Linked DNA regions of Homo sapiens: regions 2, 3, 4 and 5 are each linked to region 1. The links are contacts of gene promoters, found by promoter capture Hi-C in human tissues and cell types (Jung and others, 2019). All regions are on one chromosome and are shown on one strand. Each heading gives the region's core, a stretch centred on a gene start or on the middle of the fragment in contact. The rest is flanking DNA. Distances are from core to core; before and after follow the strand shown. Region 1 holds the start of TMEM184B (transmembrane protein 184B). Region 2 overlaps JOSD1 (Josephin domain containing 1). Region 3 holds the start of FAM227A (family with sequence similarity 227 member A). Region 4 overlaps FAM227A (family with sequence similarity 227 member A). Region 5 overlaps DMC1 (DNA meiotic recombinase 1).

Evidence for each region. Contacts are between HindIII fragments. The study calls those that stand out against the background at their distance.
Region 2: a fragment that was not itself captured here is called in contact with the fragment with the promoter of TMEM184B in region 1 in 1 of the 25 tissues and cell types used here (aorta).
Region 3: the fragment with the promoter of FAM227A here is called in contact with the fragment with the promoter of TMEM184B in region 1 in 1 of the 25 tissues and cell types used here (mesenchymal stem cells).
Region 4: a fragment that was not itself captured here is called in contact with the fragment with the promoter of TMEM184B in region 1 in 1 of the 25 tissues and cell types used here (spleen).
Region 5: a contact is called between a fragment that was not itself captured here and the fragment with the promoter of TMEM184B in region 1, in 4 of the 25 tissues and cell types used here (H1 embryonic stem cells, lymphoblastoid cells, psoas muscle and 1 more).

The regions. Positions count from the first base shown.
Region 1 is chr22:38,270,749-38,274,869 of GRCh38, reverse strand. TMEM184B (transmembrane protein 184B) reads left to right here and starts at 1,860. Exons shown (of 9, transcript NM_012264.5): 1 at 1,860-1,986. RefSeq lists a silencer at 1,708-2,337 and an enhancer at 2,400-3,109. The HindIII fragment of the contact is 18,337 bases long and covers 1-4,121 here.
Region 2 is chr22:38,686,898-38,691,018 of GRCh38, reverse strand. JOSD1 (Josephin domain containing 1) reads left to right here. Exons shown (of 5, transcript NM_001360236.2): 3 at 1,595-1,723; 4 at 1,890-2,084; 5 at 3,018-4,121. The coding sequence ends at 3,117. Among named protein-coding and RNA genes, the nearest start is that of TOMM22, 7.0 kb to the right of the region's middle. The HindIII fragment of the contact is 8,429 bases long and covers 1-4,121 here.
Region 3 is chr22:38,654,699-38,658,819 of GRCh38, reverse strand. It overlaps FAM227A (family with sequence similarity 227 member A), which reads left to right and starts at 2,428. Exons shown (of 17, transcript NM_001013647.2): 1 at 2,428-2,700. CBY1 (chibby 1, beta catenin antagonist) reads right to left here and starts at 2,182. Exons shown (of 5, transcript NM_015373.4): 1 at 2,070-2,182. The HindIII fragment of the contact is 5,432 bases long and covers 1,495-4,121 here.
Region 4 is chr22:38,599,647-38,603,767 of GRCh38, reverse strand. FAM227A (family with sequence similarity 227 member A) reads left to right here. Exons shown (of 17, transcript NM_001013647.2): 14 at 3,847-4,004. Among named protein-coding and RNA genes, the nearest start is that of DMC1, 32 kb to the right of the region's middle. The HindIII fragment of the contact is 9,989 bases long and covers 1-4,121 here.
Region 5 is chr22:38,557,055-38,561,175 of GRCh38, reverse strand. All of the region lies in intron 5 of DMC1 (DNA meiotic recombinase 1), which reads left to right. Among named protein-coding and RNA genes, the nearest start is that of DMC1, 11 kb to the left of the region's middle. The HindIII fragment of the contact is 5,518 bases long and covers 1-4,121 here.

The DNA of each region.
Region 1 (4,121 bases), core at 611-3,110:
AGCTTGTTCTAGGAACAGCAAGGGATCAGTGTGGAGGGAAAGGGTAAGAGATGAATGAGATCAGGAATCCCCAGGAGAGTAGAATGTCAGATCAAGTGTTTGTAAGGACTTGTAAGGCTTTTACTTAGAGCGAAACAGTGAGCCAATGGAGGGTTTTGAGCAAAAAAGTACCATGTTTTGACTTCGATTTTATTTTATTTTTTGAGACAGATTCTCATTTTGTCACCCAGGTTGGTGTGCATTGGCACGATCTTGGCTCACCACAACCCAACCTCCGCCTCCCGGGTTCAAGCAATTCTCATGCCTCCAGAGTAGCTGGGACTACAGGCATGTACCACCACACCCAGCTAATTTTTGTATTTTTAGCAGAGACAAGGTTTCACCATATTGGCCAGGCTGGTCTGTAACTCCTGGCCTTAAATGAGCCACCCGACCTCACAAAGTGCTGGGATTACAGGCGTGAGCCACCGTGCCCGGCAGATTTTAAAAGAATCTTGGCTGGGCGTGGTGGCTCACGCCTGTAATCCCAGCACTTTGGGAGGCCGAGGCAGGCGGATCACAAGGTCAGGAGATCAAGACCATCCTGGCTAACGCGGTGAAACCCCGTCTCTACTAAAAATACAAAAAATTAGCTGGGCATGGTGGCGGGCGCCTGTAGTCCCAGCTACTCGGGAGGCTGAGGCAGGAGAATGGCGTGAACCCGGGAGGCGGAGCTTGCAGTGAGCCGAGATCGCGCCACTGCACTCCAGCCTGGGCAACTTTGAGACAAAGAGCGAGACTTTGTCTCAAAAAGAAAAAAGAGAAAAAAAAAAAAGGATCTCCCTCACCCCTGAATTGATAGAATGGATCAGAGGGCAAGGCTGGAACAAGGGAGAGGGGTTAGCAGAACTCTGCAATAATCCTGTGCAAATACTGGACCAGGGTGGTAGCACTGGAGGAGGAGTGGCAGACATCTGAGTCTAGATCTATTTTGCAGGTAGAGCCAACAGGATCTCCTGCCTGCCTTATTGGGTAGCGGGCAGAAGGGGGGCATTCATTCACAGCTGACTCCGAGTTCTGGCCTGGGGACTGGAAGGATGGAATTGTCAACAGCTGATGGAGGCAAAGCTGAGAGGGAGCAGGTTTTTGTGTGTGGAAGTGGGGTTGGCTCAGCTCAGACACGCTGACTTTGAGATGCCTGCTGGAGCTCCAAGGAAGAGGTGTTGGGTAGACAGTTCAGGCGAGGAGTCTGGAGACATAAATACATTTGGGGATCTTGAGCACATCAATGCCAGAACTTAATTGCATTTTATCTTGTTCAGTTAACCTAGGTGATGTCTGGACCGGCAAACAGAAATGGACTAGGCGGCTTGAACCCTATCTGAAGACTTTTGCTAGTTCGGCAGCCTAGAGCCAGACGGGGCAAGAAAGAATCGCTGCTAAGCGGAGTGGGAAAAAAAGGCCTCTTTCAGTGCTTTGCCATTTCATCTGGCCTAATTGCACACAACACTCGGTCCACGTTCATTCCACAATTCCACACGCATCCTTCACTCAACAAATAGCCATTGTATTTCGTTTCATCTTCAAAACAGGCTCAAATGGAGGAAATTAGGGTTAAAAGAAGTGAAGCACCAGCGAGGGTCAGGGGCAGAGATCGCAGCCCAGAAAGCTCTCGCGGTTGGGGGCCGGTCGTAGCTGGTTTTGTGAGTGGCAAGAGAACCCGGGTCGCGCCCCAACCCGCGGGGCGGCGGGCTGGGGTTCGGGGCGGCGGGCTGGGGTTCGGGGCGCGGCCCCTTTAAGGCCCAGGCAGTGATCTCAGCCGCGTCCGCCGCCCCGCCCTCCCCGGCGGCGAGCCCAGAGCGCATGCGCGCCGCGGCTGCACTCCACTGGGCCCGGGACGCGCCGGCGGCGGCGGAGACTCCGGGGCTGCGGCGCCGCCCGCCCCGCCCGCAGAGTCCGGCTGCCGCGCATCGTCCGCAGACGCCGCCACCGCCATGGGCTCCTGAGGTATCCCGCCTGGCCGGCCTCGCCCGGGAGCCCCAAGGGGGAGCTGCGACTCCCGAGCGCGGGGGGCTGCTTGTTTCGGAGAGGCCCGCGCGAGGGACGCCCGGCTTCGGCCGCCGGCTCCCGGGCGGGGAGGGCACTACGGAGGCCGGTGCGGCCGCGGAGGGAGGGGGCATCCGTCTCCCCACCCGTGCCTCCTCTCCGCCCCGCGAGGTCGCCCGTGGGTGTGCCCGCTCCCTTTCCACGCCAACGTGGCGGGGGCAGCTCCTGGAGTGTAATCGGACCTGTCCGGGGGGCGGCCCCGGGAGAGGGAGGCGGATGGACCAAGGCGCTTTGCAAGAGGGATTGTGTGCTCCCGGGTGGGTGTGCTGGCGACTGGCACGGCCGAGTGAGTGGGGGAGGCGTCCGTGCCCTGTGCGGGTGGCAGTGACCTGGGAGGGTGGTCGGCGGGGGGCTTTCGGGGCTGCGTCGTGAGTGGAGGGTGTACACGCCCGCCACACAGGTCCGCAGGTTTGGAAGGGGATCGACTGGGACCTGGGGCTCGAAAGATGTTTGCCCCCAAAGGGACCGTGGAGACTGGTTTTGGGTGTCTGTATCCTTCCCGTGAATTGTACATTTCCTCCTGGGCACACCCTTGGTACCTCGCTTGGATCCACTTACCTCCAGTGCTGGGTGGCTCCAGGCCAAGGCAAGGCAGTTATGCTGGGGGTTGGGCATGGATTCCCAATACATATCCCCTCTGGAGGTGTTGTATAAGGCCAGACGTTTTACTCCTCCCTCCTTTCCAGGGCATTTTGGGGCAAAGCAGGTATTTGCATGCCTGATACCTGTGGTGAGGTGAAGGCCATGTATTATTTATCTGACTGCTGGTGCTTTTGTAAGGAAAGAAGCAGCAATCTGTGCCCTGGAGGCCCTGCGCTGCAGAGTCAGCCAGGCAAACAAGCTCACCTGCACCTGCAGAGGCAGCGCAGGTCTCAGAGGTGTGACTTCGTTGACAGGTTATGCCTACAGTGTCCCTTTCCATCTACCTATTTAGCTTCCTTGGTAGAACCCCTAGGCTCTGCACCTCTGAACCTTGCCTAGGGTGCTGTGCGTATCAGAGTTGGGACCTGGGACGCTGGGGTGGGAGAGCCCCAGCAGCCAGGTATGTGTGCCCACCTGGACAGAAACATTTGATGCCCAAGCCATCAAGGAGCTCTCAAGCATGGGGGAATCAGATTTGGAAACAGGTGATCACGATGATGTGAAAAATACCAAACAAAGGAGTAGAAGGAGTACAGAGGCAGGTTCAGTTCCCGGGGAGGGGGATCGTGGCCGCAGGAAAGACTCCCTCATAAGGAGACGGTTGAGCTGAAGCCTGAAGGATGACTGACGTTCATCTGAGGCTTTTCTGCTTTCCACATATATTTTCCTGTGTAATTTGCACAGCAGCTGTGTGAGTAAGGAACAGTTGTCCCTATTTGCAGATGCGGTAAACTGAGGCCCAGAGGGAATTCATGACGTTCTTCTCCACGATACGTGGCAAGCCTGGATGGAATCATCCTTTAACCAGGACCTCTCTCTTGCTGCCAGATCTTGTCTTGCAACTTACTGAGCATCTACTATGTGCCAGGCACTATGCTGGGGCATAGCGGTCTGATGATCAATGGGACCTGGTGCCTGCCTTCTAGGGGCTCCCAGTGCTGGGAAGATGGACACTGATTTAGTGACCCCAATCTGGATACGAGGCTCCAATAGCTAATGTGGGTGGAGAAGGCGCTGTGAATTCCCCCAAAGCATTTGTGCAGTCGTTGGGATTCTGGATGTCTTATTTGTTGCACCCACGGTGGTGGTGGGTTATTCAAAGAGCCCCTTCTGAATTTCTCCAACCAAGTAGAAAGAAGAGCTTCGAGGCAGAAGGGTGAATGAGCCACTTGTCCTAGTTCTTTCCTATTGGCCGAGTTCTGTGAGCAGGGGCTTCTGTCCGGAGGCTGTTTGCTCCCTCTCTGTCTTAGAGGTTTTGCTCCTGGTCTCTGGCTGGCCTGCCCAGTCCCTCACCCTGAGAAGGGCTCAGAGCTATTTCCAGTCCCTGCTGTGCTCATTTTCTCTCTGTAAATTCCCTGGAGTGGAAACAGCCCCGGCAAGGCAGGGTACAGCTT
Region 2 (4,121 bases), core at 650-3,149, 420 kb before region 1:
TCACCCAGGCTGGATGCAGTGGTGACATCCAGCCTCTGCCTCCTATGTTCGGCTCACTGCAGCCTCTGCCTCCTACGTTCAAGCAGTTAGCTGCCTCAGTCTCCTGAGTAGTTGAGACTACAGGCGTGCACCACCACGCCTGGCTAATTTTTGTATTTTTAGTAGAGACGGGGTTTCACCATGTTACCCAGGCTGGTCTTGAACTCCTGACCTCAAGTGATCTGCCCACCTCAGCCTCCCAGAGTGCCGGAATTACAAGCATGAGCCACCGCGCCTGGCCAGGAGTATGTTTTATATTTGAAAAATACCAGTATTGCTGAGTTCAGTGGCTCACACCTGTAATCCCAGCACTTTGGGAGGCTGAGGCGGGTGGATCACAAGGTTAGGAGTTCGAGACCAACCAGCCTGGCCAACGTAGTGAAACCCCATCTCAACTAAAAATACAAAAATTAGGTGGGCGTGGTGGCGGGTGCCTGTAATCCCAGCTACTTGGGAGGCTAAGGCAAGAGAATCACTTGAACGCAGGAGACGGAGGTTGCAGTGGGCTGAGATCGCGCCATCACACTCCAGCCTGGGCGACAGAGCAAGACTCCGACTCAAAAAAAAAAGAAAGAAAAAAAATACCAGTATTTCTGCTGTGCACAGAAAAATTTTAAAAATACAAGATTTCTTAAGTTTTTTAGAGTTGACATCCTTGGCCTAACGTCTTGATTCTTTTCTGGAGATGGCATGTAGTAGCCTCTTGATCATGCACTTTATGTCCTGAGGAACTCGCCACACTTCCCTTTCTCCCCTTCACACGAAGCCCAAAGGTATGCCCCTTGAACCCTTCCTTCAAAATGGCCTTTCCCCAGCTCCTGGCCTGACAAGTTTATGAAGGTAAAATAATAGAATTAGAAATGCCTTCAGCATGGACCTTGTCTTAAAATACAGACTGGCTAAAGAAACCTGGAAGTAAATGGCTTCAAGCTGGGTGGGCAAACCAGTGCTGCAGCTGAGTTTTGTTTGCCTGGCACAAATTTTTTTTCAGTTGATTTATTGGGTATTTTAAGAAAAATTTATTCAAGTACTACACACACACACACACACACACACACACACACACAGAATGCCTTTAGGTGGGTCGTGCATTCCAGTAGGCCTCACTACTTTTTATTGCCTTATATCCAACCCCAGTTTATACATTTATGTCACCTGTCTAGGCTCCTGTATGCCTTTGAGTATTTAATGATTAATGATTACCAAGTTTGCAGGCCTTAACTAGAAAGCAGGAGTGACACCAGTTACTATCCATGCAAATGAAAAGATTGAATCCTATTTTCCAATGTTAAAAAAAAAAAAGGCTTGCATGAGGCAGGAAAATCAGTATCAGGAGGAAGAGCAGAAAGGCTGCAGGAGGCTGGGATTTCATAAGTGAGTCACCTTCATGGAACACTTACAAAATACTTAGGTAGAAGCTGGGGAAATTGCACTTGAATGTGGGGAAACTAACTTCCAGGGGCAGTGATGTAAAGTGCTCTCCATCCCTGGTAGTGCGGGGTCAGGGGGTTCAGGCATCCAGCAAGTCTCAGCCCTCCTCTTTTCACATTGGTAGGTTGTCTCCAAACACCATGGTGACACCTCACAAGAAGAGCATGCTGGGAAATGGCAACTACGATGTGAATGTCATTATGGCAGCACTTCAGACCAAAGGCTATGAAGCTGTTTGGTGGGACAAGCGCAGGTAATCTGAATCAGGCTTGACTTGATGGAGAACAGCACGGTTGTGGTATAAGCTTTTAGTACTTGGGCTCATGGCATGAGTGGGGAGGTAGCCAGTTGTGGTATTACAGCCAGGGAACCTTGGAAAATGGGCTGCATCAGAGCCTGCCACCATTTCTCCCCTGCAGGGATGTCGGTGTCATTGCCCTCACTAACGTCATGGGCTTCATCATGAATCTGCCCTCCAGCCTATGCTGGGGTCCACTGAAACTGCCCCTCAAAAGGCAGCACTGGATCTGTGTTCGAGAGGTGGGAGGGGCCTACTACAACCTCGACTCCAAACTCAAGATGCCCGAGTGGATTGGAGGCGAGAGCGAGCTCAGGTAATCGGCACCTTTTGTGACTAAGTTGCTAGGCTGCTTCATTTCTTAGGTTGGGGACACTGAGCTCATCTCTGGTTATTTGACAAAGGAAATGAAATTCCTGTGCCCTTGGATTCTCTCCCTGCCTTAGAATCATAGTGTCTCGGACCTGACCTTAATCTTCAATGGCGCATCAGTACTTTTAAGTCCTTTTGGTAGGGAAGATGCCCAGCCTGGGATACCAGCCTTCTAGTCTGGTGGGGCTGGCATTGTAACGTTCTCTCTATTTAAGACAACTGAGACAGTGTAGTTGCCAGTTCATAGAAAGGAAGACAAACATGCAGGCCAGGGAGCACTGAATTTCCCCAGGACCAAAGAACATTTGTAAAAGTTCTTTAGAGGCGATTGCTCACGCCTGTAATCTCAGCACTTTGGGAGGCCAAGGCGGGTGGATCACCTGAGGTCAGGAGTTCGAGACCAGCCTGACCAACACGGTGAAACTCTGTCTCTACTAAAAATACAAAAATTAGCCAGGCGTGGTGGCGGACGCCTGTAATCCCAGCTGGTCAGGAGGCTGAGGCAGGAGAATCACTTGAACCTGGGAGGCAGAGGTTGCAGTGAGCCGAGATCATGCCATTGCACTCCAGCCCAGGCGACAAGAGCGAAACTCCGTCTCCAAACAAACCAAGAAAAAGTCCTTTATATACTTTGGGTACTGTTATTCACAGATCCAGCTACTCTTGGCAGTAACTACAAGGATGAGCAAAATTCAGGTTGGAATTTTAACTGGACAGATTGGAGGGTAACCAAATGTGGAACCCTCCAAAACCAGATGACTACAGGGATGTGTTTTGGACTGCCGAGGGTAGAGTGAGGTTTCAGGTGACTTTGTGGTCCTGAGACTGGAATTTGCAACTTGCCAGCATTTCATTTTCTCTATCTCTTTTTCCATAGGAAGTTTCTAAAACATCATTTGCGAGGAAAGAACTGTGAACTCCTGCTGGTGGTACCAGAAGAGGTAGAGGCTCATCAGAGTTGGAGGACCGATGTGTAACAGTTCTGCCCAACCTCCCTCTCGCCTCAGCCCCTTCAGTCCTCTGTGACGTGCTGTGGCCTCTACAGTGGGTCTGCCCTTGCCACTTCCCCAAACATCTCATCAAGTTTTTCCCCTTCAGATCTGACAGTGCAATAGGACAGACGTGTGGACTGTTATAAGAACTACTCAGTGTTTTGTTCCTGGGCAAGGAAGGTAGGAGTTCTGTGCACTTAAGGCCAGTGGTCACAAACCCTTGTTTTATTTAAGAGACAGAGGAGAAAGTGGAGCGGGGAGGGAATCCTAGCTTATTTTCCCTTTTCTATGAGGACTTGACACAGGTTCTGCTGAGTTGTCACTGCTGCTCCAGACTCACCTAGAGATGCTGCCTCCACTTTCCATCCTGTCTGGGTCTGAAAACAGTGGGTCTGCAGATAGTGCCCACAAACCCCATGTGACTGGTTTGAAGGACCCAGAGCATAAAGGTCTCTCAGGAAACCATGTCCAAAACCCTAGCAGCGGTACAGCATGCTGTCTCCAACCCTTATCCCCAGGTTTAAGGGTGGTTTATGGCCATACGTGGAGGTTTTTTGTTGTTGTTTTTGAGACTGAGTTTCACTCTTGTTGCCCAGGCTGGAGTGCAATGGCACCATCTCGGCTCACTGCAACCTCCACCTCCTGGTTCAAGCGATTCTCAGGCCTCAGCTTCCCAAGTAGTTGGGATTACAGGCGCCTGCCACCACACCTGGCTAATTTTGTATTTTTAGTAGAGATGGGGTTTCTCCATGTTGGTCAGGCTGGTCTCAAACTCCCGACCTCAAGTGATCTGCCCGCCTTGGCCTCCCAAAGTGCTGGGATTACAGGCGTGAGCCACCGCACCCGGCAGAGTTTTATAATGAAAAATTAACTAATATTCTAGTATGAAGTGAGGAGGATACTGAACAGGATGTGGCTAAAGCCAACCTGGGACAGCCATGGGGTGGCTTGGTTTCTTCACTCCAGTGTTGTCCCTACCATTTCGCAGC
Region 3 (4,121 bases), core at 1,179-3,678, 380 kb before region 1:
GGTATTTCCCCCATATGATAAGACAAAGTGAAAATAAAAGAATAGGCCGGGCGTGGTGGCTCACGCCTGTCATCCCAGCACTTTGGGAGGCCGAGGCGGGCGGATCACGAGGTCAGGAGATGGAGACCACTCTGGCTAACACAGTGAAACCCCGTCTCTACTAAAAATACAAAAAATTAGCCTGGCATGGTGGCAGGAGCCTGTAGTCCCATCTATTCGTAGTCCCAGCTACTCAGAAGGCTGAGGCAGGACAATGGTGTGAACCCAGGAGGCAGAGCTTGCAGTGAGCCGAGATCGCACCACTGCACTCCAGCCTGGGCAACAGAGTCAGACTCCATCTCAAAAAAAAATAAAATAAAATAAAGTAATATATGTGTGTATTAAAAAAAAGAAAGAGGCCAGGTACGGTGGCTTATGCCTGTAATCCCAGCACTTTGGGAGGCCGAGTTGGGCAGATCACGAGGTCAAGAGATCGAGACTATCCTGGCCAACATGGTGAAACCCTGTTTCTACTAAAAATACAAAAATTAGTCGGGTGTGGTGGTGTGCGCCAGTTGTCCCAGATACTCAGGAGGCTGAGGCAGGATAATTGCTTGAACCCAGGAGGCAGAGGTTGCAGTGAGCTGAAATTGCACCACTGCTTTCTAGCCTGGGTGACAGAACAAGACCCCATCTCAAAGAAAAAAAAAATAGAAAAGAAAGAAAGAGATCTGGAAGGATACACCAAACTGTTCATAGTGGTTAAACCTGAAAAAGGGAATAGGATGACTGACTTGAATGAACTTGTCATTTTATAGGTTAAAAAAAGGTCAAATTGTGACAATTTCATATGGTACAATATAAAATTATATTAAATATACTCGAGATTTAATGAATTATTACAATGAGAATATATTCATGTATTACTTATGAACAAAATAAACAAAACACAGTTAAGAAGCAGCCCCCAGCATGCCTAAAATCTAGAGACATTTGAAGAAGGAGAAATAAGTCAAGTCCCCACTGATGCTAACTGCACTGGGCCTGAGCACATGGGCTGGACACAACAAGTTTAGGGGCCTGGCTCTCCCCTTCAGTTGCCTGCTAGACCTTGGCCCAGCTGCTTTACTTCTCGGGCTTTAACTGGGCACCTTACTCATGACCGCACTAATTCTCATAACACTACAGCTGGGAGCTGTCATCCATGTATTACAGATGAGGAAGGGTCTGGATTAGCTACCTTTTAAGTCAGATCTAATAATCCACAAACAGCTCAGCTGAGATCCTGGGATTCTGGGGCATCCGCGTGCACTTGAGATACAAGCTGTCCCACTGGCCCATGGCAACCTTCTTTCTAGTGAAACTCCCAGGGCGAGCGTGCTCCGCACACAGGAAGTGAAGGGGGAGCACCTGGCTTCCAATGATCACTCTGCGGCTCACCCACAGTGGGACCCCAGCATTTATCCCCCTTGGACTTCGGCTTCTTTCTTTGCACTGAGGAATAATAATAGTACCTGGCTCACAAGATGTTATAGTGTTTTAGTGTTTATAGGAAGCTGTGCACTTGATCCTCACAACGACCCTGGGAAGAGGATCGAGTAAGTAGAGCCTTCCCAGTCCACAGATACTGATACTAATCACTAATCATTGTGTAAAGGTTTTCCGTTTGCAACAGGCCATAAAATATATTATCTTACTTTAATTCTAAGAAAACAAGGGCGGAATCTCTGGTTTTCATCGGATTCTCAAAGATATACGTGTCCCCCAAGGAGTTCAGAGGTAGCCATGTTACGCAGATGCACGGCCCCCAGGGCTGTCGGACTCAAGTAACAGCTGTCAACAAACGTTCACACGCACGATCTCATGCAATCATCTTCACGGCGACCTACGGGGAGGAATTACCGCCCCAATTCACAACCGCGGAGACACACAGAGGAGGGCGGCCACCGCCCGGGGTCGCCCGGCCTCCGTCCCCTTCCCCAGGCCCTCCTGAAGCCTCTCTCCAGGCGAGGCCCGGACGTCCTACTCAGCTCGGGCCCCCGAGTGAACCCAGGCAGCGCTGGCCGGCGACGCCGGACTCGGAGACGTACCTGACGCGTCCCAGAAGCCGGGGTCCAAGCGCTCCCCGAACCCCCAGCAAGGACTCTGTAGCCCAGAGTTACCTTGACCCACCCGCCTCCTGCCGCCTGCCCGCCACGCGCATGCGCTGCCCCGCCCGGCCTCTACCACCGAGGAAAGGGGTAACCGGCGCGGGGGTTCCCAGCGCCAGCCTGCGCCAATCCCCAGAAACTCCGTGAATCACCTCGGGATAGCAAACGGATTATACAAAGGCAGTGTCTTCTGGGGTCCTTTTCATGCCTCTAGGACCAGGACCTGCATTCACCCTCTCCACTGACACATTGGTCTGGGCCCCCGGCCCGGCTGTCACCATAGAAACGGCATCTCGCGGACAACGCGGCGGCTCACGAAGGTTCCATTGTTATGCTAAACGGGAAAGTGGAGACCGCGCCGGCGTTGCCTAGAGAACGCCTGGACTCAGAGTAGCAAAATGGGCCTCTCCCCAACTCCCCTCCTCATCCCCCAGCACAAGGCAAAGGGCACCCCTTGCTGTGAGTTTGGGGGCACCGGCTGTCGGGGGCCGACCCAGAACTTTGCGGGGTCCCCTGAGGGACCCGTGGCGGGACCGGCCCCGGGTTCGTCAAATTCCGCCGATGCTTTCAGGTAAGACGGACGGACAGACGCACCATGACCCACCTCTGGCAGCCTGCCCCCTCCCCGTGCCGTTATGGCGGCTTCTACAAGCAAGGGAAGCTGAGGCCCAGGGACTACTTAAAGGTTGCATTGTGAGGAAGGGACAGAGAACTACTGGAGAATCAACTCCAGATCTCCTAGAGTCCTAAAAGCGTGTGTTATTGGTTCCGTCTGATAAGTGCAGAAACTTAGGCCGTTCAAGGAGTTTACCGGCTGCCTAGTGGGTGTATCAGGGCATCCAGTGAGGGGCAGGACCCAGGGGTCTTTGACTCCAAGCGCAGTTCTCTTCCAACTACACCACCCTGCATTAAAAGAGGGGAGACTTCCATGTCCTAGAACTAAAATCTTCACAATCTGGCTTAGCATTGTGCAATAGAAACATAAAGCAGGCCACATATGTGATTTGGAATTTTCTAGTAGCCACATTTTTTAAAAAGTAAAAAAGAAAGCCAAGTGAAATTAATTTGAGTAATGTTTTAAACTCCATATGTCCAAAACATTACTATTTCAAGATATAATCAGTATTTCTAAATTTGCACTGCTTCCATTTAAAAATTTAATTTTTTTTTTTTTTAAGACAGAGTCTCACTCTGTTGCCCAGGCTGGGATTGCAGTGGCATGATCTCGGCCTCCCGGGTTCAAGCGATTCTGCTGTGTTCACCTCCCAAGTAGCTGGAATTACAGGCACCCACCACCATGCCCGGCTAATTTTTTGTATTTTTAGTAGAGATGGCGTTTCACCATGTTGGCCAGGCTGGTCTCGAACTCCTGACCTCAGGTGATCTGCTTGACTCGGCCTCCCAAAGTGCTGGTATTACAGGTGCGGGCCACTGCGCCTGGCCAAAATTTGAATTAATTAAAATTAAAATTTTACTCTTGGCTGTTCTATCTATGGAGTAGCCATTCTTTTATTGCTTTACTTTAAAAAAATTTTACTTTTTTTTTTTTTCGAGACAGAGTCTCGCTCTGTCGCCCAGGCTGGAGTGCAGTGGCATGATCTTGGCTCACTGCAACCTCCGACTCCTGGGTTCACGCCATTCTCCTGCCTCCGCCTCCCAAGTAGCTGGGACTACAGGCGCCCGCCACCATGCCAGGCTAATTTTTTTTTTGGTATTTATTTATTTATTTATTTATTTATTTTAGATGGAGTCTCGCACTGTCGCCTAGGCTGGAGTGTGCAGTGGTACAATCTCAGCTCACTGCAAGCTCCGCCTCCTGGGTTCATGCCATTGTCCTGCCTCAGCCTCTCGAATAGCTGGGATTACAGGCGCCCGCCACCAAGCCCAGCTAATTTTTTTTTTTTTTTTTTTTTTTGGTATTTTTAGTAGAGATGGGGTTTCACCATGTTAGCCAGGGTGGTCTCGATCTCCTGACCTCATGATCCGCCTGCC
Region 4 (4,121 bases), core at 895-3,394, 330 kb before region 1:
GTTTGAAGTCTAGTACCCTCTCAAATATGTTTGTGACCTCTGGGGGCCTGATGTTTTCCTGGCACTAAGCTCCTTGTCTGTCCTGCATACACTATGCACATACTAACTGCATCAGCCCGAATGTGGAACTCTTCTGATTTTTACAAAAACCACTCACAGAAGGCCTCTGTGTGCATGTATTTGTGTATATGGAAGAATGGAAGACTTTACTGAAGTTTAAAGAGATGAGGAGAGGGGTGCCCATACCACAGGAATGCAAATAATTTTTTTTTTTTTTTTTGAGACGGAGTCTCACTCTGTTGCCCAGGCTGGAGTGCAGTGGTGCGATCTTGGCTCACTGCAACTTCTACCTCCTGGGTTCAAGCTATTCTCCTGCCTCAGCCTCCCAAGTAGTTGGGATTACAGGTGTGTGCCACCACGCCCAGCTAATTTTTGTATCTTTAGTAGAGATGGGGTTTTGCCGTGTTGGTCAGGCGGGTCTCAAACTCCTAACCTCAAATGATCAGCCCACCTTGGCCTCCCAAAGGGATTACAGGCGTGAGCCACTGCTCCCAGCCCACAGTAATGCAAATAATTTTAAAATTAATATTAGTTGGCTGGGTATGGTGGCTCACACCTGTAATCCAAACACTTTGGGAGGTCGAGGTGGGCAGATCACCTAAGGTCAGGAGTTCGAGACCAGCCTTGCCAACATGGCGAAACCCCACCTCTACTAAAAATACAAAAATTATCCAGGCATGGTGGCAGGTGCCTGTAATCCCAGCTACTCGGGAGGCTGAGGCAGGAGAATTGCTTGAACCCAGGAGGCGGAGGTTGCAGTGAGCAGAGATTGCGTCACTGCACTCCAGCCTGGGCGACAGAGTGAGACTCCATCTCAAAAACAACAACAACAACAACAAAAAGCAAAACTTCAAGCCCAAATGCAGTAGAGGCCAGATCTCCCCCTCAAAAACACACCAGAGTCAGGGGCTGTTAGGAAAGGGGAAGGACGCTGGGTTGCCAAAGAATCACCCTCAGAGAAACCTTGCACTGCATTAGTGGATCCCAGATGCTGGACTTTCGTAGGCTTTGAAAAAAAATTTATTTTTTTACTAAGTAAATTCATTAAAACAAAATGACTGCTGTCTGTCGTCAGTAGCATTTTATAAAAGAAAGTCATTAATATCACAAATGAAAAAATTTAAAAAGGTCTTTGAAGTGAATCAATTTACTTAGAGTCGTGTAGATTTTTCCTTGTTTCACTCATTTCCCTGGTGACCACTGGACACAGCATGGCCTCCATTAGGAGACAGCATGTCAGAATCACTGGACCAAATGATCTATAAATTCCCTGCTAACTCCAGGTTTCTGTGATTCCAGTGGTATCTTGCTGTTAGAATAGTGGTTCTCAACTGGGGCAATTTTGTCCTCTGGGAGACATTTGGCCAGCTCTGAAGACATTTCTAGTTGTTAGAACTGGGGGCAGGGGGACATTGGGGGAGGCCAGGGATGCTCCTCAGCATCCTACAGTGCACAGGAGAGCCTCCCACAACAAAGAAATATCCAGCCCCAAATGTCAGTAGTGCTGAAGTTGAGAAACCTTGCTGGAGACAGAAGAAATCCCATTAGACAATTAATTAAATGCAACCCTATCCCATTAGAACAGGATTAGAAAATAGTGTGATTGGGTACTGCTGCAGCCTTTATTTGTGAAGTGGAATTTTTGTTCCATTAAGGTATAACTGCTTCTTCAAAATAAAATGTATTTTTTTTTAAACACAAAAGCAGTATTGTCATTTTTGGAAAAAGGCAGAAGAAAACAAACCATTCTTGGCCCCAGCCTGTTCTCTTTCTGATCTGTTTCCTCCTGGCTGTCTATTAGCATCTCAAATAGCATCCAAAACGGGACTTGACTTTCCCACCGCCCCAGCCTGTTCCTCCCCAGATTGTCCCACCTGAGCAGCTGACACCCAAGTCCTCTGAGCCGCCCTAGACTCTTCTCTTTCTCACACCTACGTAGAGTTGAGTCCATCAGCAAATCTTGCCAGTTCTCCTTTATCATATGTTGTAAATTTGCTCACTTCTCACCCCTTGTCTGCAATCACCAAGTCCTGGGCCCCATCAGCAATTCCCCAACTCCTGCAGGGGCCTCCTGACTGCTCTTCTGCACCCATTCTTACCCTCACAGTCATTTCTCCTCCCATCAGTCAAAGAGACCTTAACAGATTACTCAGATTATATTGTACCCCAGCTCAGAATCTGCCAGTGGCTTCCATGACCCTTAGAAAAATATCCCAGCTCCTCACCATGACCACAGCACCTGCTCCCTCTGCACCCGCCCCCACCCCTGTGAGCCACCTCATTTCTGCCCCTCAGCCACACCAAGCACATATCAGTGGCTGGATCTGTTGCACCTGCTGTCCTCTTAGCCAGGAACAACTCCTGATAGACCTTCCCATGGCTCCCTTCCCCACAGCATTCAGGATCCCTGGGGTCTCACCTCCTCACAGCCTTCCCTGATCACGCCATGGAACCCCAGTCCTCTCCTCCCTACCACTCTCCATACCCTGGCCTGATTGATCTTATTAGTATTCATCATATCATGTTATTCCTTTATTTGTTGATTTTTTTCATTGTTTTCTTCCAACTGTAATGTAAACTCCATAAGGGCTGGAATTTGTCTTGTTCTCTGCTGAATCTCCAGCACCTAAAATAGTATTTATACATAGTAATCACTCAATACATATTTGCTGAATGAATTATTAACGTTTTGGTAAGAGCCTTCCAGTCTCTCATCTATCTGTTTTTTACTAAATAATTTTCTTTTTTTTTTTTTTTGAGACGGAGTCTCACTCTGTCGCCAGGCTGGAGCGCAATGGTGCAATCTCGGCTCACTGCAACCTCCGCCTCCCAGATTCAAGTGATTCTCCTGCCTCAGCCTCCTGAGTAGCTGGGACTACAGGCGCATGCCACCAAGCCCAGCTAATTTTTGTATTTTTAGTAGAGACAGGGTTTTACCATGTTGGCTAGGATGGTCTCAATCTCTTGATCTTGCGATCTGCTTCGGCCTCCCAAAGTGCTGGGATTACAGGTGTGAGCTACCGCACCTGGCTTTTACTAAATTATTTTCTATAAAATATATAACACTATCGGCTGGGCATGATGGCTCATGCCTATAATCCAAGCACTTTGGGAGGCCAAGGCGGGCAGATTACCTGAGGTCAGGAGTTTGAGACCAGCCTGGCCAACGTGGTGAAACCCTGTCTCTACTAAAAATACAAAAATTAGCTGGGCATGGTGGCTGGTGGGCCCCTGTAATCCCAGCTACTCGGGAGGCTGAGATAGGAGAATTGCTTGAATCTAGGAGATGGAGGTTGCAGTGAGCTGAGATTGTGCCACTGCACTCCAGCCTGGGCGATAGATTGAGACCCAAGTCTCAAAAATAAAATAAAATTATATATATATATATATACATACATACACATACACACACACATATAAAAAACACTATCAAACTTTGCATCTCAGTATTTAAAAATTTACTATTATACCTGAAACCTTTTTTAGGTTATCAACTCTTCATAAACATTTTAATAGTGACATACCATTCCTTTGGGTAAAGAGATCAATGTCTTCTTGAACATTTAAGTTATTCTCATATTTTGCTATGTATAGTAAACATCTCTGCAGTGGACATCTTTGCCCCTTGACCTTTTTTTGCTTTATTTTGAGTAATTTTCTTAGGGTGCATCCTAAAACTGGAATTACTGGATCAAAGGACATGAGTGCTTTGATGCCTTTCTGGTTCTTAATACAGACTGTAAAAATGACAATATCCTTTATTTTTCCTTTTTCTTTCATCCTTAGTCGTGTGCTGCCTGCAAAAGCCCTGAGCTGACTTCAAACCTCTTCAACATTTATGGGAAGAGCCCTCTGATTGTGTACTTTCTCCAGAACTATGCCAGTCTGCAGCAGCACGGCAAGAATGTGTTGATAGTCAGAAGGGAAAAGACCACGAGCACCCCATATCCTTGTCACTGTGGGCAGGGTGCGCACTGCTCCAGGCCCCCGCGTCCTCTTCCCAGAAGCAAAGGTCAGGGAATGGCACCCAGGCCTTAGCACAGCGCCTGGCACACCATGTG
Region 5 (4,121 bases), core at 918-3,417, 290 kb before region 1:
ATTAGCTGGGTGTGATGGTGCACACCTGTAGTTCTAGCTACTCAGCAGTCTGAGTGAGATAGAAGGATTGCTAGAGCCCAGGAGGTTGAGGTTGAGGCTCTAGTGAGCCGCGATCATGCCACTGCACTCTAGCCTGGGTGACGCAGAGAGAAACCTTGTCTGAAAAAAAAAAATTAAGGAATTACTAAATTTAAGTGTGATAGTGGGAATATGGTTGTTAAAGATGAGAGTCTTCATCTTCATCTTTTAGGGATACATACTGAAATATTTATAATGAAATGATATGTTGCTTAGTATATGCTTAAAATAATATGGGAAGGGAGGTAAATGGTTAGTGGTCTATATGAAAAAAGATTTACCCTGAGTTCATAGTTGACGATTGTTGAAGCTGAGTGATAGACACGATGGTTCATTATTTTTTTTCTACATTTGTTTATGCTTGATATTTTCTATAATAAAAGATTAATATATAATATATGTTATTTTTATGTGTATATGTGTGTGTGTACATAGAGAGTGAGAATATAATTCAACTATTTCTTACCACCTCTACTGTTACCTCACTGGACTAAACTACCACCTATTAATATCTCCCCTGGATTATTATAATAACCTCTAATTAACCTCCCTCCTTGAGACCTTGCCCCTACTGTTTTGTTTTTTTTTTTAATTCACTAAAGAGCCAGAATGGTCACTTTAAAACATAGGTTAGGCTGGAATGCAGTGGCTCATAACACCCTGATGATTCCCCCTCTCACTCAGAAAAGAAGCCAAAGTCCTCTCCCATCTCTAATATTTCACTTTTCTAGTTTTCTATGTACCAGCCATAGTGACCTCTTTGCTATTCCCAGAATATGTCAGATACACTCCTGCATCAGGGCCTTTGCACTTTGTGCTGCCTCTGCCTATCATATTCTTTCCTCTTAGATCTACATGGCTTGCTGTCATCTCTTTCAGGTCTTGGCAAAAATGTCCATGTCTCAATGAGAACTTCTCTGATCACTTTATTTGACAGTATAACCTCCTAACTTTCATACTCTGTCTTCCTTGTCCCCTTTCCTGGCCTTATTTTTATCCATACCATTTAATAACATCTGATGTACTACATATTTTACTTATTTGTGTTTATTTTTTATTTTATTTATTTATTTTTTTTTTCAGACGGAGTCTTGCTCTGTCACCCAGGCTGGAGTGCAGTGGCATGATCTCAGCTCACTGCAACCTCTGCTGCCCAGGTTCAAGCGATTCACCTGCCTCAGCCTCCCGAGTAGCTGGGATTACAGGTGCCCGCCACCACGCCCGGCTAATTTTTGTACTTTTAGTAGAGACAGGGTTTCAGCATCTTGGCCAGGCTGGTCTTGAACTCCTGATCCCATGATCCACCGCTTCAGCCTCCCAAAGTGCTGGGATTACAGGTGTGAGCTACCGGCGCCTGGCCTATTTGTGTTTATTATCTAATCTCTCACTAGATTGTAAACTTCGTGAGAGAAAAAAATTCTGTCTCTTTTGTTCTCTAGTTTATCCCAAGTGCACAAAACAATCCCTGGCATAAACTAGGTGTGCAATAAATATTTGTTGAATGACTAAATGAATGAATAAACAAATAGTGAATAAGTTTGAGAAGTACCATATACTATATATTCTTCTTGAAGAGTCACAGCGCACACTAGCCTGTGAAATCCTGCAGTGACACAAAACACCTGTTTTGGCAGGGCACGGTGGCCCACACCTGTAATCACAGCACTTCGGGAGGCCAAGATGGGTGGATCACCTTAGGTCAGGAGTTCTAGACCAGCCTGGCCAACATGGTGAAACCCTGTCTCTACTAAAAATTACCAAAAAAATGGCTGGGCACGGTGGCTCACACCTTTAATCCCAGCGTTTTGGGAGGCCGAGGCGGGTGGATCACTTGAGATCAGGAGTTCGAGACCAGCCTAACCAACATGGAGAAACCCCGTCTCTACTAAAAATACAAAAAATTAGCCGGGCATGGTGGCATGTGCCTGTGGTCACAGCTACTCGGGAGGCTGAGGCAGGAGAATCGCTTGAACCTGGGAGATGGAGGTTGTGGTGAGCCGAGATCGTGCCACTGCACTCCAGCCTGGGCAATAGAGTGAGACTCAGTCTCAAAAGAAAAAAAGAAAAAGAAAATACCTGTTTAACCCAGCATTGTCCCAGACTTTTAAAATCACATACCCTTTTTTCAAGTAAAGTTAAGGAAGAGGCTTGGAGAAATCCTACCCCTAGGCAAATTGGTCAAAATGAGGTTGATCAACAAAACACTTGATTCAAATGACAATCTGATTTTCTTTAGTTACTCTACCACATGGTGGTCTAAGAACCACTGGGCTAAAGAAATAATTACTGTTATTGTGAGTTTTCTGGTGCCCTTGATGTTTGCTCTTGAGAACAGAAAAGATCATTCAGGAGCTAGGTTTTTTTTTGTTGTTTGTTTGCTTTTGAGACAGAGTCTTGCTGTGTCGCCCAGGCTGGAGTGCAGTGGCATGATCTCGGCTCACTGCAACCTCCGCCTCCTGGGTTCAAGCAATTCTCCTGCCTCAGCCTCCTGAGTAGCTGGGACTACAGGTGTGTGCCACCACACCGGGCTAATTTTTGTATTTTTAGTAGAGACAGAGTTTCACCATGTTGGCCAGGCTGGCCTCGAACTCCTGACCTCAGATGATCCACTTGCCTCGGCCTCCCAAAGTACTGGGATTACAGATGTGAGCCACTGCGCCCAGCCAGGAGCTAGGTTTTTAAAAATTAATATTTAATTAATTAAAATATTATACATTTTTCCTTAAGCTTTAAGTCCCTTTATAAATCTAGCACATTTTAAGGGTGCTTTTATAACAAGATTAAATTCTCTTAAACATTTTAATTATGTTTATACATTTAGTGTATTGTATTTTCTTTAAGAACTTTATTTGTTGGCCAGGTGCACTGGCTCACACCTGTAATCCCAACACTTTGGGAGGCTGAGGCGGGTGGATCACAAGGTCTCTACTAAAGACAGGATCACCCTGTCTCTACTAAAAATACAAAAATTAGCCGGGCATGGTGGCGGGTGCCTGTAATCCCAGCTACTCAGGAGGCTGATGCAGAGAATTGCTTGAATCCAGGAGGCAGAGGTTGCAGTGAGCCAAGATCACGCCACTGCATTCCAGCCTGGGCGACAGAGTGAGACTCCGTCTCAAAAAAAAAAAAAAAAAAAAAAAAGAACTTTGTCTAATTATCTAATTATTAACAGCAAAATCTTCCCAATTACCTAAATATCTTTTGTAACTCAAATAAATTTAGAAGTATAGTGAGTTGTAGGCACCATTAAATGTTCAAATACTATTTATAAAATTAGTTATCAACTTGAAAATTGAAGGAATGTACCATTTAATCAGTCAGAGGCCAATCCATTACAAAAAGGTCAAATTATCTTAAACGTTAAAAGGTCTCAAATAGCAAATATGCACAGGTTATTACCAAATTTATTTATTTATATTCTATTTTATTTTTTGAGACACGGTCTCACTCTGTCACCCAGGCTAAAATGCAGTGGCTCCATCACGGCTCACTGCAGCCTGAGTAGATGGGACTGCAGGCACAGGCCAGCATACCTGGCTAATTTTGGTATTTTCTGTAGAGACTGGGTTTCGCCATGTTATCCAGGCTGGTCTTGAACTCCCAGGCTCGAGCGATCCACCTCCCTCGGCCTCCCAAAGTGCTAAGATTACAGACATGAGCCACCATGCCCATATTGCCAAATTTAATATGAAAATAGTAATCTATGGGTTTGATTTGTGTCTCTATTTTTAAATCTCCCTATATTTAAAAACACTATTTCTACACTTAATTCTAAATTTTCCTGAGTCTCAAAAAGGAAACAATTGTGCTATCCCAAATAATTTGGGGTATCCTCACAGGTAAATTTTGGGGTTACCTTTTCAGCTGATTGAGATTACATATCAACCAGGAATTTTGTCTGGGATTTTCCAGAGGTATAGCTTTCCAGGGTAATTTTTCTCAGGAAGAAGAGGGACAAATAAAGCTTTCTTTAATAGTTGCTAGCCCAACCACCATGGCACACGTTTACCTATGTAACAAACCTGCATATCTGGCACATGTAC